Regions from separate parts of the Homo sapiens genome. Here region 1 is linked to region 2. The links are contacts of gene promoters, found by promoter capture Hi-C in human tissues and cell types (Jung and others, 2019). All regions are on one chromosome and are shown on one strand. Each heading gives the region's core, a stretch centred on a gene start or on the middle of the fragment in contact. The rest is flanking DNA. Distances are from core to core; before and after follow the strand shown. Region 1 overlaps SASH1 (SAM and SH3 domain containing 1). Region 2 holds the start of PPIL4 (peptidylprolyl isomerase like 4).

Evidence for each region. Contacts are between HindIII fragments. The study calls those that stand out against the background at their distance.
Region 1: a contact is called between a fragment that was not itself captured here and the fragment with the promoter of PPIL4 in region 2, in 1 of the 25 tissues and cell types used here (hippocampus).

The regions. Positions count from the first base shown.
Region 1 is chr6:148,523,383-148,530,733 of GRCh38, reverse strand. SASH1 (SAM and SH3 domain containing 1) reads right to left here. Exons shown (of 20, transcript NM_015278.5): 11 at 5,369-5,443; 12 at 3,138-3,281. Among named protein-coding and RNA genes, the nearest start is that of SASH1, 180 kb to the right of the region's middle. The HindIII fragment of the contact is 3,300 bases long and covers 1,381-4,680 here.
Region 2 is chr6:149,543,594-149,550,675 of GRCh38, reverse strand. It overlaps PPIL4 (peptidylprolyl isomerase like 4), which reads left to right and starts at 4,633. Exons shown (of 13, transcript NM_139126.4): 1 at 4,633-4,740. The coding sequence starts at 4,671. RefSeq lists enhancers at 3,064-3,740, 4,444-4,743. The HindIII fragment of the contact is 4,905 bases long and covers 2,352-7,082 here.

The sequences.
Region 1 (7,351 bases), core at 1,781-4,280, 1.0 Mb after region 2:
TCACACTTCAGAAAGTTTGCAGTGAGAATTGTTTACTTGCCAAAATAGAAAAGTCTCTGGCATATTACATATGGCCGCAGCCACACGGGCTCAAAACCAGCTAAAATGAAACCTGCTATTTGCATGCTGCCGAGTCATCAGAAGGGCCTTAACACAGCTCCGCAGGTCCTGCAAACATCTGAGGACATCAGCAACAGCAGCTTCTGATCCAACACACATTAGTGCTTTCAATGTGAGGAAAGTGAGCAAGCGACCTCAAAAACAACAAAGAAAACTAGAGCTGACATTATTAGGAAGTTACTGAAGCTCCAAAGTATGAATTCCTTAAAAAAAAAAAATTCATTCCTCCTTTCTGCGTCATAAAATAAGTAACTTTTTTCCCATTAAAATCTTCTGTAATGCTTCTGAAAAAAGCACGCAGTTTGAAAAACAGCAATAGTAAATGTGGGTCTCTGATATATTTTCAAATGCTTTAAAAAATTATTAATTTATTCATCACATGTTTATGAATTACCTACAATAACAGGCACTAATCCAGGTATTGGGCATATAGCAGCAACGGAGAAAACAAATATCCCTACCATAATGGTTGGTATATTTACTAAAAAGTTTTTTTAAAAAAACACACAAGGTGGGCGCAGTGGCTCATGCCTGTAATCCCAGCACTCTGGGAGGCTGAGGTGGGTGGCTCACGAGGTCAGGAGTTCGAGACCAGCCTGGCCAACGTAGTGAAACCCCATCTCTACTAAAAATACAATAATTAGCCGGGTATGGTGGCACGTGCCTGTAGTCCCAGCTACTCAAGAGGCTGAGGTGGGAGAATCGCTTGAACCCAGGAGGCAGAGGTTGCAGTAAGCCGAGGCCACACCATTGCACTCCAGCCTGGGTGACAGAGTGACACTCCGTCTCAAAACAAAAACAAAAACAAAAAAAAAACAACCACATAAAACCTTCCATTATTTTTGCTTTACAGAAAATTTATAATGATCAGTTGTTTCTTTTATTCCTTAACTTATGTGAAATGGCTGCTTTAAAAAAACAGAACTAAGCACATAAGATTGCTATATGGTAGTAAAATTATTGAAAAATGCCAAAATGACATTAAAATTCTATGCTTCTGATTCATAAAGCAGAAAACCTCTGTGAACGTAAAGCTTAAGAGTTTTAGTGGCTGTTTCAATCTATCTTGGGGAAAAGCAAACTTAATAAAATGCTTTCAATTAGTAGCATGCTCTCACTAGCATGCTGACTGCTTCATTGCTGGGAAGAAATATAGAATCACTATCACTCCGTCACCCACAAGGACAAGAGAATGAAAAGAATAAAGAAAAAAAATCATGGATAAGACATGCTGAAGGCAGTCCAGACATCTATCTCCTGCAGGTCTAACAAGCCACGGTTTCTCAGCCTGAGCACTGATCATTTTGATGGACAGCTCTTTGCTGTGCAGACCGTCCTGTGCATGCTAAGATGTTTGGCAGCGTCCCTGGCCTCTATCCTCTAGATCAGCATTCTCCAACTCCCGGGCCACGGACCAGAACCCGTCTGTGGCCTGTTAAGAAGTGGGCCGTACAGCAGGAGGTGAGTGGCGGGTGAGCAGGCCAAGCTTCATCTGTTTTCACAGCCACTCTCCATTACCCGCATTACTGTCTGAGCTCCACCTCCTGTCAGATCAGCGGCGGTATTAGATTCTCGTAGGAGCACGAATCCTATTGTGAATTGTGCACACGAGGCATCTAGGTTGCACGCTGTTTATGAGAATCTAATGCCTGATGATCTGTCACTGTCTCCCATCATCCCCAGATGGGATCATCTAGTTGCAGGAAAACAAGCTCAGGGCTCCCACTGATTCTACATTATGGTGAGTTGTATAATTATTTCATTATATATTACAATGTAATAACAATAGAAATGAAGTGAACAATAAATGTAATGCATGTGAATCATCCTGAAACCACCACCTACACCAGCTCCGTGGAAAAATTGCCTTCCACGAAACCAGTCCCTGGTGCAAAAAGATTGGGCACTGCTGCCCTAGATGCCAGCAATATCCACTCCACTTCACCTCAACCCAGTCTGACCATTGAAAGACATTGCCCTGGAGTCCATGGGGGAGCAAAATGATAGCCTCTCACCCCTTCCCCGTGAGAACCACTGTAATCAACTGAAGCTGCTGTGCAGGCTTTGTTTGAATCAAGTGAGGTGGGTGGCAGGCTGGTGACGTTCGGTCATTCGCATAGGGGCGATGCTTGGTTTTAGCTCACTGTGCCCACCAGAGAGCAGCAGCTGAGCAAAAATGTCTGCTTTTCCTGCTGTTTTTATTTGGTAGATAAAGTGCATTACCTACATATTTCAAGCAGACAACCAGCTCATACACAGGAACTTCAACAGGCTACAAAATGAGTGCTATACAGGTGCTGGAGGAGAGTGTCTTGAAAATTGAATGGTCATAATTACCTTGAGGCCCAGCTCTCCAACTATCTTTACTCCCTCCACCCATGCAATTTAGACAGAAACAGTCATTTCTCTAGCAATGAAATTATAGATCCAGGGGGGAAAAATCAATTCTATGATACCTTCCTTCATGGCTACAGATAAGGCAAATGAGGGAAAACACCCCTCTCTGAAACATTATTACCAAAGCCTGGTACCCAGGAAGAACTTTGAGTTTATTTCTTAGACTGGCTATGTGCTTCTAGAACAACTTATGCTATGATCGACAAGTCTACTGCCACCCCCCCCCCCAAAAAAAAAAAGCTTTAGGTTTGATTCAGGTAACATCCATTTTGTAGCAAGGCATAGTTTAGAAAATAAAATCCTTCCTTTGTATTCAAATTTACAACGCTTAGTGCACTGAAGAATAACCATTTCTTTACATGTCTGTCTCTCTTGTCTGTACACAGAAGGCAAGTTCTGTATTTTGTATTCCCAGCACCAAGCACGGTGCTGAGCAGCCCAAAGTGCTTAATAAACGTGTGTTGAATTCAGTGTTTCTCTACGTAAATAAAGCACGGACTTGGAGCAGGTTAATGCCAAGGAGTATGTGTATTTAGCACCATTTAAAATCTCAGAAGGGCCATTCTCAGCTTTTCTTGTCAGGAAGAACCAAGGGAACATTCTACCAGGTAGCTGCATACCTGCTCAGAGACAGAGCTGCTGTATTTTTTAGACATTCTCTTTCTCATCGTCTCTTTCACTGATTTCACCTTTTTCCCAAGAGAGATGCGAGAGGCAGTAGGTGATTTGATGACTTCTTTGTACACAAAGTCTCCTTCTTTACCCTGTAAAACAAAATGTTGCAAGTATTGTTGGTCGCAGAAAATGAAGAACAGGTTTTATTATTTAAACCATTAACATCCTAGCTCTCAGAAATATTGACATTCCTCATGGATCTTGACGTTTTTCTTGTGTTAACTCAGTGCTATTATTTATCTCTTTGATTAAAAATTAAAGCTTATTGACTATTTTTGTTTGCTTAAAGTGGGATGTGAGTCACTTTTTATTTTACTTACTTTTAGTACATTCTTATCAGGTTACATTTTTTCCACTATTTTTAACATCCAAGGGGGCTGCATTTCATCAGTAAAGAGTGATTTACCTTTGGGAGGCTGAGGCAGGTGGATCACGAGGTCAGGAGATCGAGACCATCCTGACTAACACGGTGAAACCCCGTCTCTACTAAAAATACAAAAAATTAGCTGGGCGTGGTGGTGGGCGTCTGTAGTCCCAGCTACTCAGGAAGCTGAGGCAGGAGAATGGTGTGAATCCGGGAGGTGGAGCTTGCAGTGAGCTGAGATCGCGTCACTGCACTCCAGCCTGGGCGACAGAGTGAGACTCCCTCTCAGAGGGAAAAAAAAAAAAAAAAAGTGATTTACATGAACCAATGTTCATGTAATCCCAGCAATGGGGGAGAATAGAGGGATAATACTACCGAATTGCCTGGAGAAAGAGATTAGAACAAATGGTGAAAGCTCAGTCGTTAGAAGAGCAACATCTGATTGGATTTCCATCACCATAGCACTCAGTGTGTAAATTTCTCTCTCTTAAAGAGCTAGATTGTGGTCATCTCTCATTCTAGTCTGCATTTTTTTAAAAAACAAACTTCTCCCTGAGAAAGAAAAAAATCATATTTTCTCTCATTTCTAAAAAAGATTGACAGCAGAAAACTATTGGCTTAAGAATCAATATAATTCGATAGCCAAATAAAATAGTTTAATTCTCTTCCAGGAAATTTTCAAAACATTTCATATATATCCCAGGTGGGTATTTTAGCTGACCCATGATCATAACAAATATGAAACATGAAATCTTCATTTTACAGTTTTATGACACAATGCAAAGGACAAGCTAAACTACATGTAAGACTCACCAAAGGCCGGGCGCGTGGCTCACACCTGTAATCCCAGCACTCTGGGAGGCCAAGATGGGCGGATCACAAGGTCAGGAGTTCAAGACCAGCCTGGCCAACATGGAGAAACCCCATCTCTACTAAAAATACACAAATTCTCTGGGCATGGTGGCGTGCACCTGTAATCCTAGCCAGTCGGGAGGCTGAGGCAGGAGAATTGCTTAACTGGGATCTGGGAGGCAGAAGTTGCAGTGAGGCAAGATTGTGCCACTACACTCCAGTCTGGGCTACAGAGCGAGACTCCATCTTAAAAAAAAAAAAAAAAAAAAAAAAAAAAAAGACTCACCTTCACCCTTGGGGTCTGAGAAAGCAAATTTCAGGAAACAAAACTTGTGTGCCACTGTGGTGGCCTGTCCCTAGACTATGACCCCAAAGCAGGTCTGAGAGGGCAGACACCTGGGCCTGACACCAGACCCCTGAGGGATCTGGTCTGCTTTGGTCCCACAGAGACTGGGTTCATTCCAGGACACCCCAGACCACAAAATCCTAGGCTTAGTATAGGCCATGTGGGGCCAGGTACTGGGCCCATAATAAGACTGGTGTTCCAAAATGCCAGCACATACTCTTGGGGACCAAATCACAGGGCTCCACTTCATGGCACTATGTGTGTGTAGTAGTTACATGCTTGCAACTAGCAAGAAGAAAAGGCCGTGTGCAAAATGACTCAGACCACAGAGGCCAGACTTATCTGGATTTGTTACTTGAAGAAAACTGGAAGCAAAGGCATTAAAGGAACTGTGCTACTCAAGGAAGGAGATGGCAGTGAGAGTGGTCATCATTCATTCCACGTGGAACAGTGGAGTCTGTAAGGCAAGTGAAATAGAGCTTTTTTCCAAACGTGACTCAGGATTACCAAGGAAAACGGTACCCAGTATCAATTCTCAAAGATACTCAATGGTGAACTATTGTCAACCTCATCGCCTGAATCCATATTTTTTGCTTTCCTCTGATGTTACTCACCATTGGGTCAGAATTATTACTGCCAACGTGCAGAGAGCGATTCGTCAAGTCAAATCCTCCAAAACTGCAGGTTCTCTGTGGAAAAGAGGGTAGGGCAGAAAAACTTCAGTTATGCTTAAGCCAGCCGGCAGTGCACCAACCCAGCAGTCCCCGTTTGCAGGACATCTCTGAATCACAAATACGTGGACAGGATGAAAGTAGAAAACGAGAAATGATGAGAAAAAAACACATGAGTCATGTCGTAAGGAAACTTCACTCATTTTTCCCTTTCACAGGCCACTGGAACTCTGCCTACCCCAGAGGTCTAGAATCCCCTTAACATGCAAAAACCAACCATTTTTTTTAAAAAGCCTAAAAAACAAAAGAAAAACCCTCCATGAGTCCAGTGCTGTGAGATTCCCTGTCTCCAGCACAGAACTTCCCCTAACATCAGCTACATTCAGTAGAGATAATGAAGGGATATGTGTTAGAGGATCCATGTACTCAGGCATCCTGAAAACCCAGGTTTGAAATCCCACGGCTCTGACACCAACAGCAAGCTTTTCAAACAGACTTTCATTTTGTTTAGCTTTAAATCGCTGAGAAGAGGGGGGGAGAAGGTTATGTTTACAGTTGTCCAATCAGGCCAAGAGAATTACTCACTCACCGCTTCCCCATCCTAGCCAAAAACGCTGGTAACTTTCCCATCGAACTGCCCAAGTTAATTCATGGTGACCCTTTTCTCTCAGTGAATGAAGATGCCACATTTGCCCAGAAAGAAAACGGTTGATTCAGTGACTGTGTTTGACCACACTTTTTAATTTCAGTAGGAACAATGCTGATGTTATAAAGAATGAAAACTTTATTATCCTTTTAGGTGGTTGCAAACTTCACGGAACTGCTTATATCTTAGTGATTTCTGTATTTGCAGAACTTGATTCAAATTCACTGTTGTTTTTCTAGTAAAAGCCACTGAGTGACCGCCCTGTGCCCCACAACACACATTAATGTTACAGCTAATTATCTTTTTTAAAAATCAGTAATAAAAGTTTAATTGTAGATTCGGGCTTCAATATTTTGTATTACCAGCTTCTCAGAGAAGTCTAATGAACAGCTATTAAATGGAAGAAATGAACAGAAAAGTACAATGTATTAGGTTGGTGCAAAAGTAATCGCAGTTTTGCCATTATTTTCAATGGTAAAAACTGCGATTACTTTTGCACCAACCTAATATACTATAAGCATTGCTTATTCATTAAAAAAAATATATATATATATATATATATATAATTAACTGAATTGATAAAGTAGAAACATCCTAGAAGGAAAATGCCTACATTTTTGAAATCACAGAAATCTAGATGCAAATCCTGGTTCTGCCACTTACTTGCTGTGTGATCTCAGGTAAAGTACTTACACTCTCTGAGCTTTAGATTCTTCATTATTAAAATAATACTTATATCATATTTGAAGCCTTCTAGCGCACTGCCTGGCACAAGGCAGACACTCTATGAATGCTGGTTTCTTCCACTACTTTTCATTAAGGCTGTACTGAGAATGTGGTAGTCATCCTGACAGCTGTTATACTGAAGTTGAGGCTTAGTTAACATTACAAATATGCAAATACAGGGCTGGAGCTTTGTTCTGGGCCTTACAATCTAATCTGGGAGTTCAACTATAAAATCAGAGCATACCAGGAATGGGCCACAAAGTGAGAGACGGCCATTGGGGTCTGGAGAGGGCCAGGAGATAAGGAAAGCATTTCGTGACAACTGACATCAGGAGGTCTCAGAGCTGTTCTTATTCACCGATGCTGCTGCTGCTGCTGCTACTACCGACTTGTTTTCTAATAGACATTATCCTAATTCTGTATTAAATATCAATGGGCAATCTGATTTCTCTTATCGTCAGCTTAACTGGACCTATATCTATTCTATAGAAAGAGAAAAACCTTTCTACACAAATATATTCACCAAATCACCTAACTGGGTAAGCAATGTTATG
Region 2 (7,082 bases), core at 3,384-5,883:
CTTAAATATCAGGCCCTGTTGTTAGAGGGTTCCCACATCCAATTAAAGACTTGTTCTAGCCTCAATCTAGCCACTATTTGATTCTATTGAATTTGATTCTATTGAAAGTGTGTCTCTTCCTCCAGGCACAAGCGCTCAATTAGCTGAGCTAATAGCTCTTACAAGAGCAATTGAATTAAGCAAAGGTAAGGTAGCTAATATTTACACTGACTCCAAGTATGCTTTCCTAGTTTTCCATGCTCATGCGACCATTTGGAAGGAAAGGCATTTTCTTTTCTTTTTTTTGAGATGGACTTTTGCTCTTGTTGCCCAGGCTGGAGTGCAATGGCGCGATCTCAGCTCACTGCAACCTCTGCCTCCCAGGTTCAAGTGATTCTCCTGCTTCAGCCTCCCAAGTAGCTGGGATTACATGCACCTGCCACCATGCCCAGCTAATTTTTGTATTTTTAGTAGAGACGGAATTTCACCATGTTGGCCAGGCTGGTCTCGAACTCCTGACCTCGTGATCTGCCCGTCTCGGCCTCCCAAAGTGCTGGGATTATAGGCGTGAGCCACCATGCCCGGCCTGGAAAGGCGTTTTCTTACCACCAATGGATCCCCTATAAAATATCACCAGGAAATTAATACATTACTATCCTCAGTTTTCCTTCCATGAGAAATCGCAGTAATGCATTGTAGGGGACATCAAAAGGGAACAGATGAGGTAGCTGAAGGAAACAGATTAGCTGATCAGGCAGCTAAGTCAGCGGCAAGAAAGCCTCAAGACATTAACACTTCAAACTCCTCTAGTGTGGGAAGGCTCCATCAGAGGAATTAAACCTCAGTACTCCCCTACAGAAGCAGAATGGGCCACTTCTTGAGGGTATACATTTCGGCCCTCAGGATGGTGACAGTCGGAGGATGGCAAGCTCCACTTGCCAGCCTCTAGCCAATGGAAAGTCCTTGAAGTCCTTCACCAAGCTTTTCACCTGGGAAAGGATAAGACATATCAATGTGCCCAGAGATTGTTTTCAGGAGATAACTTACTAAAAACAGTTAAGGAGGTTGTTAATGCTTGTGAAGTCTGTCTTAAAAATAATCCTTAACAGGCGACTCCTTCCTCCTCAACCCCAAAGAATAGGAGGTTATCCAGGAGAAGACTGCCAAATAGACTTCACCCACATGCCGAAGACAAAGGGCATCCAATACCTGCTGGTATGGTCAGACACCTTCACTAACTGGGTAGAGGCATTCCCATGCCGTACAGAAAAAGCCTCTGAGGTAATAAAAGTGTTTGTTAGTTAATGAAATAACTCCCCGCTTTGGTCTACCTAGGTATCTTCAAAATGACAATGGACCCTCATTTAAGGCAGCTGTCACACAAGGGGGTCTCAAAAGCACTAGGCATAGAATACCATCTCCACTGTGCTTGAAGACCCGCATCCTCAGGAAAGGTAGAGAAAACTAATGATATGATCAAGAGACACATCAGAAAATTAACCCAAGAAACTCACCTTCCTTGGGTCACTCTTCTTCTTATGGCCTTACTACGAATAAAAAGTACCCCTTCAAAACTTCGTCTTAGCCCTTTTGAGATGCTGTATGGATGACCTTTCTTTACCAATGATTTTCTATTAGATCAAGAAACCTCTGAGCTAGTCAAGCAGGTAACTTCTCTGGCTCACTTGCAACAGGAATTAGCACAATTAGCAAAGCCCCAACCCCAGGAAATTGGACCACCTCTATTTAACCCAGGAGATTTGGTACTGGTGAAGGCTCTCCCTTCTCTCTCTTCCTAAGCCCAAGCTGGGAAGGGCCTTACACCATTCTTTCAACTCCCTCAGCAATAAAAGTTACAGGAATCAACTTTTGGATACATCACACTCGAGTCAAAGCCTGGAAAGCTGAGGGAGCAACCCCTGACAGCCCAGAGAAATGACCTGAATATCAATGCGAAGAAGTAGGAGACCATAAGCTGAAAATCACAAAAGATAAGTAACGGAGTAAGAACCACTCACCTTAGTCTCGCCTCTACCTCACCAAATACTTTTTGCCGTTTCTACCTCTCCTTTTAAGCCAAGTATTACTATATACTATAGCACCCTCAGGGTGTAATATCGAACAGAATCTCAATTACTGTAGCATTTTGCTTAATTACTATCCTTACAGCAGGAATAACAGTTATTAACCAACAGTAAACATGAGTGTTTTACTATCACTAGGTCTGTTAGGATTTTTTATGGGACTTAGTAATACGTCACACCCTTTAGCTCCTACAATATCCGCCATGGCCCATTTCTACAACAAGACTAATTGTTGGGTCTGTCCTAAATGGTTTGCTCAGTTCAACAGCACTGAGGAACCTTACAATGACCCAGAACTCACAGTCTTAGGATTCCCTTTGTTGGCTTTACTTTTAACCCTTAAACACATATCAGGCATAAATGGAACATGGTATGGGAGCACTTTCTTTTTTTTTTTTTTCCTCGAGACGGAGTCTCGCTCTGTCACCCAGGCTGGAGTGCAGTGGCGCAATCCCGGCTCACTGCAACCTCCACCTTCCGTGTTCAAGCAGTTCTCCTGCCTCAGCCTCCTGGGTAGCTGGGATTACAGGCATGCGCTACCACACCCAGCTAGTTTTTTTTTTTTTTTTTGTATTTTTTATTAGAGACGGGGTTTCACCATGATGGGCCCGGCTGGTCTCAAATTCCTGACCTCAGGTGATCCGCCCACCTCGGCCTCCCAAAGTGCTGGGATTACAGGCATGAGCCACCACGCCCAGCCATGAATATTGTGGTGGCAGTCGCTGTGGCGGGCACCTGTAGCCCCAGCTACTGGGGAGGCTGAGGCAGGAGAATCGCTTGAACCCAGGAGGCGGAGGTTGTAGTGACCTGAAATCGCACCACTGCACTCAAGCCTGGGCAACAGATCGAGACTCCGTCTCAAAAAAAAAAAAAAAAACCCAAACCGAAAAACCATATTTATTCATTCAACAAACATTTATTTGCACATTGTGTACCAGGCTGTCATACGCATTAGGGATATAGCTTTAAACAAAACAGACAAGATGGAATATCCTGGAACACACATTCTAGTAACAATAAACAAACAAACAAATTCGTAAATAGCATGTTAGATTGTAAAATGTACTCTGGAGAAAAAGCTATATGGAGAAAAAGAAGTGTCTGTGGGGTTAATTTTAATTATGGCAGCCATGGAGGGCCTCACTGACAGGGTGACCGACGCCAAAGCGCCTGAAGGAGGTGAATGGGAGCCATACAAATAACTGGAGGAAGAGGTCCCTCAACCAAGGCAAGTGAAAAGGCCATGGGGCAGGAGTATGTCAGCAGTGTTCAGGGAATAGCAAACTGTCTACTGTGGCTTCAGAGGAATAAGAAGATGGCGTAGGATGGGGTAGGAGAGGATCTTGTAAATCATTATAAAAGCTCTGGCTTTTCCGCCAGGTGCGGTGGCTCAAGCCTGTAATCCCAGCACTTTGGGAGGCGGAGGCGGGCGGATCCACGAGGTCAGGAGGTCGAGACCATCCTGGCTAACACGGTGAAACCCGGTCTCTACTAAAAACACAAAAAATTAGCCGGGCGTGATGGCGGACACCTGTAGCCCCAGCAACTCGGGAGGCGGAGGCAGGAGAATGGGGTGAACCCGGGAGGCGGAGCTTGCAGTGAGCCGAGATCGCGCCACTGCACTCTAGACTGGGCGACAGAGCGAGACTCCGTCTCAAAAAAAAAAAAAAAAAAAAAAGCTTTGGCTTTTCGTCAGATGTGAAGTTATTGGAGATTATGTGTAAAATGTCATAAGAAAGAGTGACAGGCTTGCCCAGAAGAGTGTCTGGGGAATAAACTTGCATGGCAAAATGTTAGTTTTGGCCAGGCGCAGTGGCTCACGCCAGTAATCTCAGCACTTCGGGAGGCCAAGGCGGGAAGAGTTCGAACTCCTTGAGCTCAGGAGTTTGAGACCAGTCTGAGCAACATAGTGAGACCACCTCCCCCGACCGCCATCTCTACAAAAAATAAAAGAACAAAATTAGCCGGGCGTGGTGGCGCGCGCCTGTGGTCACTTGGGAGGCTGAGACAGGAAAATCGCTGGAGCCCGGGAGGTGGAGGTTGCAGTGAGCCGACATCGCGCCACTGCACTCCAGCCTGGGCAACAGAGCGAGACCCTGTCTCAAAACAGAAAACAAAACAAAATGTTAGTTCTTAGAATCGGAAACCCCTAGTAGAGGCCCAAAGTTGTTTTGCGAAAAGGAGACTGACGAGGAAACCCGGAGGAGTCCGCCCAAATAGGTGGAGAGAAGATCCCGCCGCGGGCGCCCCCTGGTGGATAAAAGGGCCGCGCGGAGGGCCGCTCTGCTCTTGAGACGGACACAAACGGGGCACAAAACACTATACTGAGACCGTTCTGAGGGACAGGCTTCCACCAAAATCGCCAAGGGCGGACCAGGATTTTCAAAACGGCCGCGCCGGGGGCGGGACCAACCCGATCCGTAAGTCAGCTGGGCAGCCCGGCGCCCGCACGCCGACCGGAAGGAACTGCTCGGAACCGGGGGCGGCGCCGGCGAGATGACGCAAAAGGGGTCGCGCCGAGGGTGACGCGTGGCGTAGACGACGCCGTCGGCCTGCGCCTGTCACCCCCCTCCTCCCGGGGTTTGTAGCGGAGGAGGAGCGGGCGCCATGGCGGTTCTACTGGAGACCACTTTAGGCGACGTCGTCATCGACTTGTACACCGAAGAACGGCCGCGTGGTGAGGCTTGAGCCCCACTCACCTGTCGCCGGGGCCCCCGAGCTTGTCTCCCTACTTTCCCTTCTCTGCGCAGTCCAGGGCAGAGATTGGCTAGAGCTCGAGCTTCTGGGCTGCTGGTGCCCGCGACTGGGCTATTTTATTAACCGGCCTTGGCTAGAAAAGTTTTTGTGACGGGAATTCGTTTGAGCCTTGGCAGCCCTTCTCCCGTATTTTGTGTTGGCCAGTCCGGTGGACGGTGCTTGCGGTCATTAATTGCCTTTGGGAGTGTGTGTGTGGGGCGTGTGTGTGTGTGATTCGAGCTGCACATACAATACCCATAGCTTTTGTGCCTTTATTGTGTTTACTCGTGAGAGGAACATAGGAACTATTGCTTGGTGTGTAATCGGTTAAATCTTGATGAAGGCAGTTAGGGTGTGCTTGGCGCAGCGAGTGTGGGCATACCGCTTAGGTGGAGGAGGAAGAGGTTGTCTGGAGTGTGGACTGAGCCTTCGAGGCACTGGGCTAAGTCCTGGGCTTGGCTTCTTGCCCCCGAGGGTCTGATTTTTCCACTGGGGGAAGTAGACACAGGAACCCATTTTAGTTTTCTATGTGTTATGGTAGAAGAATGTGTAAGTTGCCACGGAAACCAGAAGAGGGCGGCTTCTTTGGTGGGGGGTGGGAAGAAGCAAAGCTAGCGAATACTATATAGAACACTTGAACTAGTTCTTTCAAAGATGAATGGGAATGAGGGTTTTCTTAGCTTGGACTTTCTTTGTTTGGAATTTTCTGGAAACGGCAAGTAGTTTGGTGTGGCTGGAAGGACTGGTGTGAGTCGTGGAATGGTAGACTCGAGTGTGGTCAGATACGCCTAGGTCAGTCGTGAATAGTCTTGTGTGCCCTACTGATGATCAGAGTCCTTGAAGACTTTAAAAGCAGGATTGAGGCATGGCATACTTGTTTTGAGAAGATAATAGGCAGCGGTGTGGAGAATGTATCAGAGTCAGGAAGAAACTGAGACCAGGAGAGATTAGTTACAAACAGGGTCCTACCCACATGGAATGCAGAGCCTATCAAAGAAGGTGAAATAAGTTGCAATATTGTACAATAACTACCTCCTGCCGTGCTCCGCTTTCCCTCGCACGCAGCTATTCCTCCCTCCTCTCCACCTGGCGAAAACACTACAAACTCTCCCGTACCATTGTTACCATTCTTTTGCTGTTTCTTCTAAACAATATTCTTCTCCACTATTGTCCTTCTGGCAAACTTACTACTTATTATCTAAATCTCAGATCAAGCATCATCTCTTCTTTGAAGCTCTCCCTCCTTTCTAAGCAGAGTTACCTGAGGGTTCCTCTGCTGTGTCTTAGGTCTTTTATAAACCACATGACACATTTTATTTTAACATTTACCTATTATCCTGGTGTTGTTTACAAGCGTGCCCTCGCTCAAGAATGTAAACTCCAATGAGAGCAGGAACTATACCATAATTATCATCTCTATATCCTGAGTACCCAGTACAATGTCTGCTACTTTTAGGGCACACACTAGAGGTTCATTATGATGACTAATGGATATAAATGTGTTGTATTAGTTAGGACCCTTTGTTCAAGTGATAGAAACCCAACTCAAACTGGCATAAACAAAATAATTGGTTGCCTCATAATACTGGGGTAAGCTTGGATCGAGTGGCTGGATCGAGTGTTTCAAAGAATATCATAGGGAATTTTGTTTTTTATCTCTTGATTTTGCTTTTCTTTGAGTTCCTTTGACGCTCTGCCCATGTAGAGTAGCACCTGGCAAAATAAATGGGCCTCTTTTCCCAGAGTTATGAGGAAATAAAGGGGTGTAGAGCTACCCCACCCAATTAACAAGCAGTGGGTCTGCAAAGATAAGCCCATAACAATAAGTCCACCCCCTGTACATATTTGTAAGCATATGACTGGAGATGTGCTTACATGTGTACCTGCTATATTTATACTCACTTATCAATCTATGATCAACATATCCAGACTTACCTACCTTCCATTCTTTCTTCCTTTTCTTTTTTAACTTTTTATTATAGAAAATTTAAAACACAGATGTAGAGAGAATCATGTAAATGAACTCTCATGTCCACATGACCAGCTTTGTTTAACAGCTGTGAACACATAGCCAATCTTGCTTCATTTATAATACCCCCACCTCCAGTGCATCTATTTAATCTGTAATTACTTCAGTATGTATTTCTAAAATATAACGTCTCTTTAAAAAAAACAAGAAAAAATGGAACTATGAGCTTAAGTACCACATAAGTGACAGGTTAAAAAAGAAAAAAAACTTGACAGGGAAAAGGGAAAAATACTAAAGGAAAGAGAAAAAGTTGT